3 separate regions of the Homo sapiens genome follow, and all the other regions are linked to region 3. Evidence: promoter capture Hi-C in human tissues and cell types (Jung and others, 2019). All regions are on one chromosome and are shown on one strand. The core of a region is centred on a gene start or on the middle of the fragment in contact, and the rest is flanking DNA. Distances in the headings are between cores, read along the strand shown. Region 1 overlaps TAB1 (TGF-beta activated kinase 1 (MAP3K7) binding protein 1). Region 2 has its middle 26 kb from the start of SNORD83B. Region 3 holds the start of APOBEC3C (apolipoprotein B mRNA editing enzyme catalytic subunit 3C).

Evidence for each region. The method cuts DNA at HindIII sites, captures the fragments that hold promoters and counts their contacts. A contact is called where the count stands out against the background at its distance.
Region 1: a fragment that was not itself captured here is called in contact with the fragment with the promoter of APOBEC3C in region 3 in 2 of the 25 tissues and cell types used here (adrenal gland and dorsolateral prefrontal cortex).
Region 2: a contact is called between a fragment that was not itself captured here and the fragment with the promoter of APOBEC3C in region 3, in 2 of the 25 tissues and cell types used here (dorsolateral prefrontal cortex and spleen).

The regions. Positions count from the first base shown.
Region 1 is chr22:39,403,599-39,407,587 of GRCh38, reverse strand. The region is part of intron 1 of TAB1 (TGF-beta activated kinase 1 (MAP3K7) binding protein 1); the gene reads right to left. Among named protein-coding and RNA genes, the nearest start is that of TAB1, 5.8 kb to the right of the region's middle. The HindIII fragment of the contact is 6,290 bases long and covers 1-3,989 here.
Region 2 is chr22:39,285,606-39,289,538 of GRCh38, reverse strand. No RefSeq gene overlaps it. Among named protein-coding and RNA genes, the nearest start is that of SNORD83B, 26 kb to the left of the region's middle. The HindIII fragment of the contact is 9,215 bases long and covers 1-3,933 here.
Region 3 is chr22:39,012,637-39,016,148 of GRCh38, reverse strand. It overlaps APOBEC3C (apolipoprotein B mRNA editing enzyme catalytic subunit 3C), which reads right to left and starts at 1,892. Exons shown (of 4, transcript NM_014508.3): 1 at 1,770-1,892; 2 at 398-554. The coding sequence starts at 1,786. RefSeq lists a silencer at 1,602-1,651 and enhancers at 1,762-1,871, 1,444-2,061, 1,791-2,085, 2,062-2,680. The HindIII fragment of the contact is 14,453 bases long and covers 1-3,512 here.

The sequences.
Region 1 (3,989 bases), core at 131-2,630, 390 kb before region 3:
CGCTGGAACCCGGGAGGCAGAGCGTGCAGTGAGCCGAGATCACGCCACTGCACTCCAGCCTGGGAGACAGAGTGAGGCTCCCTCTCAAAAAAAAAAAACAAAACAACAACAAATGATCAGGGCCATAGCAAGGCTGCCCACTCTATTACTTCACACAGAACTGGAGGTGTTAGCCCAGGCAGTTAGACAGAGTAAAGAATGAGAGCATAAAAACCGGGAAAGAAGTCATTTCTATTTGCAGTTGATAGGACAGTACGCCTGGCAACCCTAAAGAATCAATGAAAAACTAATGCAAACAGAAAAAGAAATCAGTTAGGCGGCAGGATAGAAAATCAAAGTATGCAAATCAACAGCTTTCATATACCCAAGAGAAGATGAGCATCTAGCCTCTATGTAATGTAAAATAACAAAGTCCTTTTCCTGTGAGTTTCTACCATGTCTGTCTCCCCCAGCCAAACTACTATAGAAGGTTGTTTTAAATCTAAATTTATATCAGTCGAATTACATCTTAATGCATTCATCCCAGCCTTCCAGACTGTCGAAAGTTTTGAATTTTGCCCTTTGACAGATTAACAATCTCACTCAGCTGTGTATCTTGTACAGACAAGGCCTTCTACTCACTGTTCCAAACAATCTCTAAAAAACTGTGACCAGAGGCCGGGCGCAGTGGCTCACGCCTGTAATCCCAGCACTTTGGGAGGCCAAGGCGGGCAGATCATGAGGTCAAGAGATTGAGACCATCCTGGCTAACACGGTGAAACCCCGTCTCTACTAAAAATACAAAAAAATTAGGTGGGCGTGGTGGTGGGTGCCTGTAGTCCCAGCTACTCCAGAGGCGGAGGCAGGAGAATGGTGTGAACCCGGGAGGCAGAGCTTGCAGTGAGCCGAGATGGCGCCACTGCACTCCAGCCTGGGCGACACAGCAAGACTCCGTCTCAAAAATAAAAAATAAATTAAAAAAAAATAAAGAAAGAGTAAGAAAAAAATTACCCAAAGAGCATATGTAAAAGTACCCATGGTAAGGCAAAGCCTGTCCCTTTCTGTCTTTTTAAGTCCTATCTACCCTAAAGGCACTGCTCAAATCCAACTAGGGCCAGAGGCCCATGATTCCCAAACCTCAATCATCCACTGACCATCTTCAAGAAACTATCTTTCACTCAAATGATTCCTTTTTTTTTTTTTTTTTTTTTGGTGACAGTCTCACTCTGTCGCCCAGGCTGGAGTGCAGTGGCGCGATCTTGGCTCACTGCAAGCTCTGCCCCTCCAGGTTTAAGCAATTCTCTGCCTCAGCCTCTGGAGTAGCTGGGATTACAGGTGCGTGCCACCATGCCCGGCTAATTTTTTGTATTTTTAGTAGAGACGTGGTTTCACCATCTTGGCCAGGCTGGTCTTGAACTCCTGACCTTGTGATCCACACGCCTTGGCCTCCCAAAGTGGCCCTGTGGCAACCATTGTGCTATAGCCTGGTATTGTTAATTAGATTACCTTATTTCACTGATTTGAAGACCTACATTTTCCACATGTTAACGTCTCTGGAGTTGGTATGTTACAAGTTAATTAGCTGTGAGTTCTCTTTCTGAGCAATAGACAAAACACTGACGTGTCCTTAAAACATTGGTGTCTTAGATCCAATGACACATGGGCAGTTTCTCACGTAATTCGGGCGCTCGCCAGACACTGGTTCACTACAGTGGCCGGAGAACCTCAGGAGGTTCTACCAAGTGGGAGTGAGAGTATCTGGTCTTCTCCGTGTTCCCCAGCGGACTCACGCTGCTGCAGCTGAGTAGGCTTGGATCGTGTTCTCCCGTCCCTTTCCATCTCCATCGAGGATTAGCCATACCGAGCGTCCATTGCTGATTCCATTAAAGCCTACAGGACTGCCAAGTCTCTCGCTTCCTTCCTCCACATTTCTGAACAATTTTCAGAAAGGTCATGTACTTTCTATTCACACAAACCACCCACCCCTCCACCCCTGCACACACTGATGCATACTTTCTCCCACGCCCCCAAATGCCAGGCCTGCCAGCACCAGCCGTGAGCGGCGCTGGAGCGCAGGGAGCAAGAGTCTGCGAGAAGCTGAGAAGGGGGCGTCTCTCACTCAGCACAGCCTCATCGCGGAGCCACTGCAACACACACAACAGCGAACGCAGGACTTAACTCTTCCATGTCTGAGAAATGAACTGCTCATGAGAAATTTCACAAGAATACGTTAAGAAGCCTGTTTCAAAAGACCTAATTTTGATTTGATTTTGTGAAGGAGTTTCCAAAATTAATGTTTCGGTATGAAAAGCTTCTACAGTGATCCAACAGTATTTAACCCAACAAGGCCTTTACAAACACCCTGTGCATGATGTAAGCATTCACTCCTCATGTATATATGTGTCCATGTCACATAATAGTTCACAAAGTACCCACACAGACTCATCTCAAAGTCCTGGGCAGCAGAAATGGACAAAGAATGGTTCCAAGCTCAGGCCACAGCTTGAATACCAAATTATGCTATGAAAAGGCCAAGTGTTTTTGTGGTAAAAGCACCCACATTCCTTAGAAGCAAAAAGGAAGCTCAGAAAGGGAGACTCACAACCCCAGGAAGAGGGCTCGGAGCAGGGGAGCAGCAGACCTTTCTCTCCAAAAAGCTTCCAAGGCCCCAATGCCCCCACCACCTCCAACCTTCCGGATGACCCACTTCTCTGAGACCAGCTCCACTCCTGGCCCCCACTTCTCCCACCGGAGTTTTCATTGAAGGTTCTCCATGTCGTCATCCTAAAGAGCTCCTCATTCATTCTTAAAGGGGCTAATAATCATTGTTGGCACTTCCAATGTGCTAGGGCAGCAGCTGGGTGTATGCAATGGGTATAGGTGGTACCCCCATGGACCTTTTTATTTTAGTGGCTATGTATTTATTTTAACATCCTTTAGATAAATTACACAGATAGCAGCACCTATGATCTCAGATATAATTGCTCAGGACATGTCGAAGTTTAAAAAATTGATTTTAAGCTTACTTTCTTTTTTTTTTTTTAAACAGGTCTTGCTGTGTCACCCAGCCTGGAGTGCAGTGAGGGGATCATAGCCTCACTACAACCTCAAACTTCTGGGCTCAGGCAATCACCCCATTAAGTCTCCTAAGTACTACAGGCACATACCACCATGCCTCACTAATTTTTTTAAAGACTGAATCTCACTATGTTGCCCGAGCTGATCTGGAACTCCTGGCCTCAAGTGATCCTCCTGCCTCAGCCTCCCAAAGGGCTGGGATTCCAGGCATGAGCCACCATGCCTAGCCTGATTTTCTTTTTTATAATTAAGTAACAGTACAGGCAAAATCAAACTCTTGATTCCCCCTGCCCCAGGGTGCCCCTCTTCCAGGGCTCCCTCACCCCGTAAATGGCACCACTGTTGTTTAAACCAAAACCTTAAGAGTCCTTTTTGACTCTTCTTCCTCTGTCACACACCTCACATTCAATCCATCAGCAAATCACATGAGCTCTTCCTCCAAAACACAACTGGAATCTGATACTTCCCACCATTCTTCTGCCATCCCCATGGCCAAGACACCTTCTCGCACCTGGATGACTCTAGGAGTCTCTTAGGAGGTCCCAGGCTTCCACTCTCACCACTCAAACTCAAAAGAGGGATTTTTCGGCCGGGCACGGTGGCTCACGCCTGTAATCCCAGCACTTTGGGAGGCCGAGGCTGGCAGATCACGAGGTCAGGAGATCGAGACCATCCTGGCTAACACGGTGAAACCCCGTCTCTACTAAAAAAAAAAATACAAAAAGTTAGCTGGGTGTGGTGGTGGGTGCCTGTAGTCCCAGCTACTTGGGAGGCTGAGGCAGGAGAATGGCGTGAACCTGGGAGGCGGAGCTTGCAGTGAGCTGAGATTGCGCCACTGCACTCCAGCCTGGGCAACAGAGCGAGACTCCGTCTCAAAAAAAAAAAAAAAAGAGGGATTTTTCTCCAATCAAAAGTCACATCACATCAGGTCC
Region 2 (3,933 bases), core at 1,387-3,886, 270 kb before region 3:
ACTGGGGGGTCTGGTGTCTCTGTGTCCTTGGGGCACTGGCGGGGGGATCTGAGCCCAGTGTCTGCTGACTGGTTCTGACCCCCTCTGCCCCTCTGCCAGTCTGAGTCTCAGTTTCCCTCATCTGTGCACAGGGCTGGTCATTTCCCGCTCTCCTCTCAGGGTGAGCTGGGGAGAATGAAGAGCCACTCTGGCAGAGGCACTGGGGCTGCCCTAACAGGTGTGGAGGAGGCTGGGGAGGTTCTTGCTGAGCAGCAGTGGGACAGGCCACATGGTTCCTAATTCAGGAGGTGACCCTGGCCAAGCCCTTTCTTCTCTGTCAGCCTCGGTTTCCCTATTGATAAAAAAAGGGGTTGGAGACCCAGTGTGGTGGCTCATGCCTGTAATCCCAGCACTTTGAGAGGCCGAGGTAGGTGGATCACTTGAGGTCAGGAGTTTGAGACCAGCCTGGCCAACATGGTGAAACCCCGTCTCTACTAAAAGTACAAAAATTAGCCGGGCGTCGTGGCGGGCGCCTGTAATCCCAGCTACTCAGGAGGCTGAGGCAGGAGGATCACTTGATTCCAGGAGGCAGAGGTTGCAGTGAGACGAGATTGTGCCACTGCATTCCAGCCTGGACAACAGAGCAAGCCTCTGTCTCAAAAACAAAACAAAACCCCAAAATGAGGGGTTGGGATCTGTGACTGCCCAGGACCCTTGAGGAGCCTGTCATGGGCAAGTGGGCCGCTGGTACCAGGCAGAGCTCCCAGTCCACTGTCCCCCACTCCCTAGCCCTGCCATGCTCCAAGGTGCCCAGCTCCTACCCGGAGCAAGTGCTGGGCTGGGAACGTCGGCCATCACCTCGCCATTGACTCAGGGAGGCTCACCATCTGGAGGCCTGAGGATGCCACAGCAACTTCCAGCCTGGTCAGCAGGGCAGGTATCAGAGGCGTCCACCCTGCCATGCTGACGATTTCCACCTCATTGCCGAGGGGCCCCCTGGGCCTCCCAGAAAACTGGAGTCATTGACCCTGGGAGGCAGAGGATCTTTGAAGACAACTTGTCTTCTGGGATTTTAGAACTTTTTGAAAGTTAAAATGAGGTCAGACACAGTGACTCATGCCTGTAATCCCAGCACTTTGGGAGGCTGAGGTGGGAGGATCGCTTGAGGCCAGGAGTTCCAGACTAGAATGGGCAACATAGTGAGACCCTGTCTCTAAAATAATTTTAAAAATTAGCCAAGCGTGGTGGTGCATACCTGAAATCCTAGCTACTTGGGAGGCTGAAGAGGGAGGATCGCTTGAGCCCAGGAGTTTGAGACCAGCCTGGGCAACAGAGTGAGACTCCATCACTACAAAAAATAAATTAAAGAAAATTAGCCGAGTGTGGTGGCGAATGTCTATAGTTTCAGCTACTCAGCAGGGCTGCGGTGGGAGGATCATTTGAACCCAGGAGGCCAAGGCTGCAGTGAGCCATGACTGTGCCACTGCACTCCAGCCTGGGTAACAGACACCCTGTCTCAAAAAAAAAAAAAAAAAAAATTAACCCATTTATGCCTTAAGTTGCAATTTTTAAAACTTTTGCAATCAGACCTTGGCAATGACCTTGAGAAGGAGGACAGAAATAATTCCCAATAATGGAACACTAGGCATAAATGAAATGATACACAAATAATACACAGGTCCAGAAACACACCCTCCTTGCAGCAGGACCAAATGATGGAGAAGACACATTGGCCTTCCACATTGTTGTGGGTTGAAAAGGATCTCCCCAAAATTCATGTCTATTCTGCACCTCAGAACGTGACCTTATTTGGAATAAGGATTTTTGCAGATGTAATTAGAGTATGGATCTCAGAATGAGGTCACCCTGGGTTGGGGTGGATCCTAAATCCAGTTAGAGTGTTCTTACAAGAGAAAGGGATGGGAGATTTGCAAACAGAGACTCAGGAGAGGAAAGGGCCCTGTGAAGTCAGAGGCAGGGATTGAACAGTGCGGTCACAGGCCAAGGAACCCGGGAGTCCCCAGAAGCTGAAAGATTGCCCCCTGGAGCTGTGGAGGCAGCATGGCCCTGTAGACACCTTGATTTTGGACTTCTAGCCTCCAGAGCTATGAGAATAAATGCCTGTTATTTCCACCACCAAGTGTATGGTAATTTATTACAGGAAACCAGTAGACACCTGCCCCACGGCCCTGCTCCGTCTGCAGCTCCTCCCTCCAGGGTTCCTCTCTGCTCTCCACACATGACTGTGGCATGCTGAATGCAGAAGTTTTGTTTTGAAATGTGGTGTTTTGAATGCAGAAGTTTTGTCTGTTGAATGCAGAAGTTTCATAGGCACATACCAGACGCGGTGTTCCGTAAACGTTCCATAAATTGCTCTGGCCATTGGTGCAGATGGGGGCAGCTCCCAGTTTTCCTTGGTTACACAAGAAGCCACTGTGAACACTTTTGCCTTGTCTCTTCTGCACATGCTTGATGACTTCTGGAGGCTGGAAGATTCCTTAGAAGGAGAATTGCTGGGTCAAAGGGTAAGCCCGTTTGCAATTTGACTGATGCTGTCAAATAGAGTCAAAACAGAAACTCAGAATCTTAAGAAGGAGAGAAGGTTTGGTGCAGTGGCTCATGCCTGTAATCCTTGCACTTCGGGAGGCCAAGGTGCAAGGATCGCTTGAGCCCAGGAGTTTAAGGCCAGTCTGGGCAACACAGGGAGACCTCGTCTCTATAAAAAATACAAAAGTTAGCCAGGTGTGGTGGCGCATGCCTGTAGTCCCAGCTACTTGGGAGGCCGAGGTGGGAAGATCACTTGAGCTCAGGAGTTCACAGCTGCAGTGAGCCATGGTTGCACCACTGCTATTCAGCCTTGGTGACACAGTGAGACCCTATCTCAAAATAAATAAATAAATAAGAAAAAGAGAAGCAGGGAAACAGACTTTTGGATTTTACAGCATGGGACACTTCCAACCCCAGAATTATAAAACTTCAGGAGAGGGGACCTCAGGAGAACATCTATTCTGGGGTCTCACTTCAGGACCCAGGAGTGACATCTTCCAAGCCCTGTCTGGGTTTCTGTTTCCCTGGAATGGGCTTGGAGAAAGCAGAGGAGATAGGACCCAGGAGCCTGGAACTCTGGGGCTCCAAGGGAGCTCTGGCAGGGGGTGAGTGAAATGCCTTCCCCACCTGGGCACCCAGCTCTTCTACCCAGAGGCTGCCCCTTTCCAGCCGAGGTGCCAGGCCAGCTGGGCCTCTGTAGCTGCACACAGTGGCCCCTCTGTGCTTGGCACACACACACAAAAATGTGAACAGAGCCTGTAATCCCAGCACTTTGGGAGGCCGAGGCAGGTGGATCCCTTGAGACCAGGAGTTCAAGACCAGCCTGGAGAACATGGTTAAACTCCGTCTCTACAAAAAATACGTGAAAAAAGAAATTAGCTGGGTGTGGTGGTGCATGTCTATGGTTCCAGCTACTGGGGAGGCTGAGGTAGGAGGATTGCTTGAGCTGGGGTGGTTGAGGCTGCCATGAGCCAAGATTGTGCCTCTGCCCTCCAGCTTGGGTGACAGAGTGAGACCATCTCAAAAAAAAAGAAAGAAGAAAGAAAGAAGAAGAAAGAAAGAGAGAGAGAGAAAAAAAGAAAGAAAGAAAGAAAAAAGGAAAGAAAAGGAAAAGAAAAGAAAAAAGCCAGGTACGGCAGCTCACGCCTGTAATTACAGCATTTTGGGAGGCCGAGGTGGGCAGATCACAAGGTCAGGAGTTCAAGACCAGCCTGGCCAACATAGTGAAATCCCATCTCTACTAAAAATACAAAAAAAAAAAAAAAAAAAAAAATTAGCCGGGTTTGGTGGTGGACACCTGTAATCCCAGCTACTGGGGAGGCTAAGGCAGGAGAATCACTTGAACCTGGAAGGCAGAGGTTGCAATGAGCCGAGATAGTGCCACTGCACTCCAGCTCGGACAACAGT
Region 3 (3,512 bases), core at 643-3,142:
CCTAGCACTTTGGGAGGCCAAGGCTGGTGGATCACTTGAGGTCAGGAGTTCGAAACCAGCCTGGCCAACATGGCAAAATCCTGTTTCTACTAAAAATACAAAAGAATTGGCTGGGCATGGTGGCAGGTGCCTGTAATCCCAGCTACTCGGGAGACTGAGGCAGGAGAATCGCGTGAACCTGGAAAGCAGAGGTTGCCGTGAGCTGAAATCAGACCACTGCATTCCAGCCTGGGTGACAGAGCGAGACTCCATCTCAAAAAAAAAAAAAAAAAAATAGAAATGTGGCAGGAAAGTGCACACAGGAGAGCCCACGCCGGGCACATCACTTATTGTTGCGTTTTCTGCATTCCCAGCTGCTTAGCTCCTATTTAGGGTGTAACTAGGACTTTGGTGCTACCTGGTTTCGGAAGACGCCCGTCTTCCAGGAGACAACTGAGCGGCGCTTTATACCTTCCACGGTGAAGCACAGCCAAGTTTCGTTCCGATCGTTGGCTTCCCATAGGTTTTTAAATTGGAAGTAGAATGTGCCTGGATACATTGCCTTCATCGGGTTTCTGAAGGCACAAGAGAGAAACCCCAATGCAGAGACCCCCGCACCGGAGTCCTCAGGGCTGATGCCCACTGAACACAGCTGCCTGGACGTCCCTGGGCTCTGGGCCTCCCCCATCCCTCCACAGCCCTGAGAATGTCTGCTGCTTTCCCAGGCAGGAAGACGGGGAGAGAGAAAGAGGAGGGGACGCTGGCAGGGGCAGCAGGGCCGGGGTGACCTCTCCTAGCTGGAACCCCAGCTCTGGGGCTACCAATGGAACACCCTCAACCTCCCAGTTTTTCTGCTACTTTTTTTTTTTTTTTTTTAAAGACGGCATCTCGCTCTGTCCCCCAGGCTGGAGTTTGCAATCTCAGCTCACTGCAACCTCCACCCCTCGGGTTCAAGGGATTCTCCTGCCTCAGCCTCCCAAGTAGCTGGGATTACAGACGCCCGCCAGCACCCCTGGCTAATTTTCTGTATTTTCAGTAGAGACGAGGTTTCACCATGTTAGTCAGGCTGGTCTCAAACTCCTGACCACAAGTGACCCGCCCGCCTCAGCCTCCCAAAGTGCTAGGATTACAGGCATAAGCCACCGTGCCTGGCCTAAAATAAGAGCATTTCTCCTGATCATCATATTTTTTCCTACACTCCATGTTGCAGGTGTCATTCTGAAAGGTGAACGGTGCTCACAGAGGAGGAGCCTGTGTCTGGGGTCGTGTGCATCCTACTCTGCTCACAGTGGAGGCATCTTTGGAAGAAGTGACTTATTTTCTGGTACAGAGACCATTCCCTCCCCCACACCCTCTCCTAAGACTTTGTATTGAAACAAAGTAAATCTTACAGAAATTGCACCAAAGCGCTGAGAACAAAATGCCTGATTGCTCAAATCATCCTTTGGTTCAATTCTCCCAGTTCCAGAGCTCCCAGGAATAGTGGGAAGCACACAGAGGAAGCACCCTCCCAGGGCGGGAAGCACCAGCCCGGGCATGATTTTCGGGGGAGAGTCTCAGCAGGCGGACTGGGCTGGGGCAAGTGGGGAAGGTGGCCCATTCAGAAGCAGCAGTCGTGGGACCACACAGCAGGGCAAGGAGCTTGGCTGGGAGTGGGGGCAGCGGGGGAACCAGGGGGGAGGGAGCCCAGAGGTGGGGCTGGGGCAGGGGGAGGCCAGGGCTGAGGCCCAGCAGGACCGCCTGGCAGGAAGTGGCAGGAGGGGCCTGGCGGACAAAGCGTGCAGAGGTACCTGATCTGTGGATTCATGTTCAGCCTCTTAGATATGCTTGTCCCTGTCCCACTCTTTTCTGAAGCGCTGTGGCTTCTCTTCCTGCTTACAGCGTCCTTGCAGTTGAGCAGCCCTCTTTAAAGTGACCTCCCAGGGCCTTGTGAATCATGGCCCCTCCCCATTCCTGCTCAGGCACTGGTGTGGGAGGCCCCGGGGTGCTTCATGTTTCTCTGGCTCTGGCCCTCTTTCTGGTTTTCTCCGGGCCCCTCCTACTGGCAGAGGAACCTCCGATAAAGACAGGCTGCTCTGTCTTTATCTGTCCTGGGCAGGACCCAACGGAACTGCAAAAAGAAGAGAAAGAGAAAGAGAAAGGCATTGCAGCCTGAGCCTGGGACGCGGGTCCAGACCCAGCTGAGAGAGGGGCAGGTGCCCCGTTGCCTGGTGGTTGGGCAGGCTGGAGCCCCCTCTCCACCACCCCCTCCCCAGCCCTAATGTGTGCCCAGAGCTTTGAGCAGCACCACCCTGTTGAGTGAGGGGAGGTTTTGAGACCCCAGTGGGGAAGGAAGTGTGGACTCCGCACAGCACAAGCGAAGGCTTAGGTGTGCCTCGAGTTCCCAGCTGTGTGCTGAGTCCATCGCACGCATCCCCTCTTCCAACCTCCCAGCTTCCAGAAGGTGGGGGGCAGTTCAGCCCCTCAGAGATGTGGGCGGAGGATTACCTAGGTGCTGAGGCAAGAGACTGAAGGCACAAACTGTTTCAGTATAATAAAGAATATACTTACAATAAGAATAGTTATAATACAAATTAGATACAGAGATGATCATGGACATTATCAATCATTAGTGTAGATATTATTAATCATTAGCTTTTAATATTACTCTTTATTGTATTACTAATATAACCAAGAAATAACCGGTGGGTATAGGGTCAGGTGCTGAAGGGCTGTTGTGAGAAGTGACCGAGAATGCAAGAGGTGAGCCCTCTGTCACACCCGCATAAGGGCTACTGGAGGGCTCCTTGGTCAGGCGGTAACGCCAGTGCCTAGGAAGGCATCGTTACTTAGCGGACCACGAAAGGGAGTCTCCCTTTTCTTGGAGGAGTCAGGGAACGCTCAGCTCCACCAGCTTCTTGTGGGAGGCTGGATAGTATCCAGGCCTGCCTGCAGCCATCCGGAGGCCTAAACCCCTCCCTGTGATGCTGTGCTTCAATGGTCACGCTCCTTGTCCACTTTCCTCCTGTACTCCTGGTCCCTCTTTGAAGTTCTCAGAAGATAGCGGTAGAAGAAATAGTGAAAGTCTTAAAGTCTTTGATCTTTCTGATAGGTGCATAGAAGAAAACGCTGACGTATACTGCCTTCCCTCTCTGCTTCGGCTACCTATAAGGGAAGGGCCCCCTGTCCTATGATCACGTGACTTGCTCGACCTTATCAATCACTTGGACGACTCACCCTCCTTACCCTGCCCCCCTTGTCTTGTATGCAATAAATAACAGTGCACGCAACCATTTGGGGCCACTACCCATCTCCGTGTCTTGATGGTAGTGGTCCCCCGGGCCCAGCTGTTTTCGCTTTATCTCTTTGTCTTGTGTCTTTACTTTTTACGATTTCTCATCTCCACACACGGGGAGAACACCCACTAAGCCCCATAGGGCCAGACCCTACATCAGGGACTGCGATGTCTGCGACATCAAGCGGTGGAAGCAAGTGTCTACAAACAGGCTCACGGCCCACAGGGACCTCTCAAGGGGTTCCGTGTGGACCAAGAA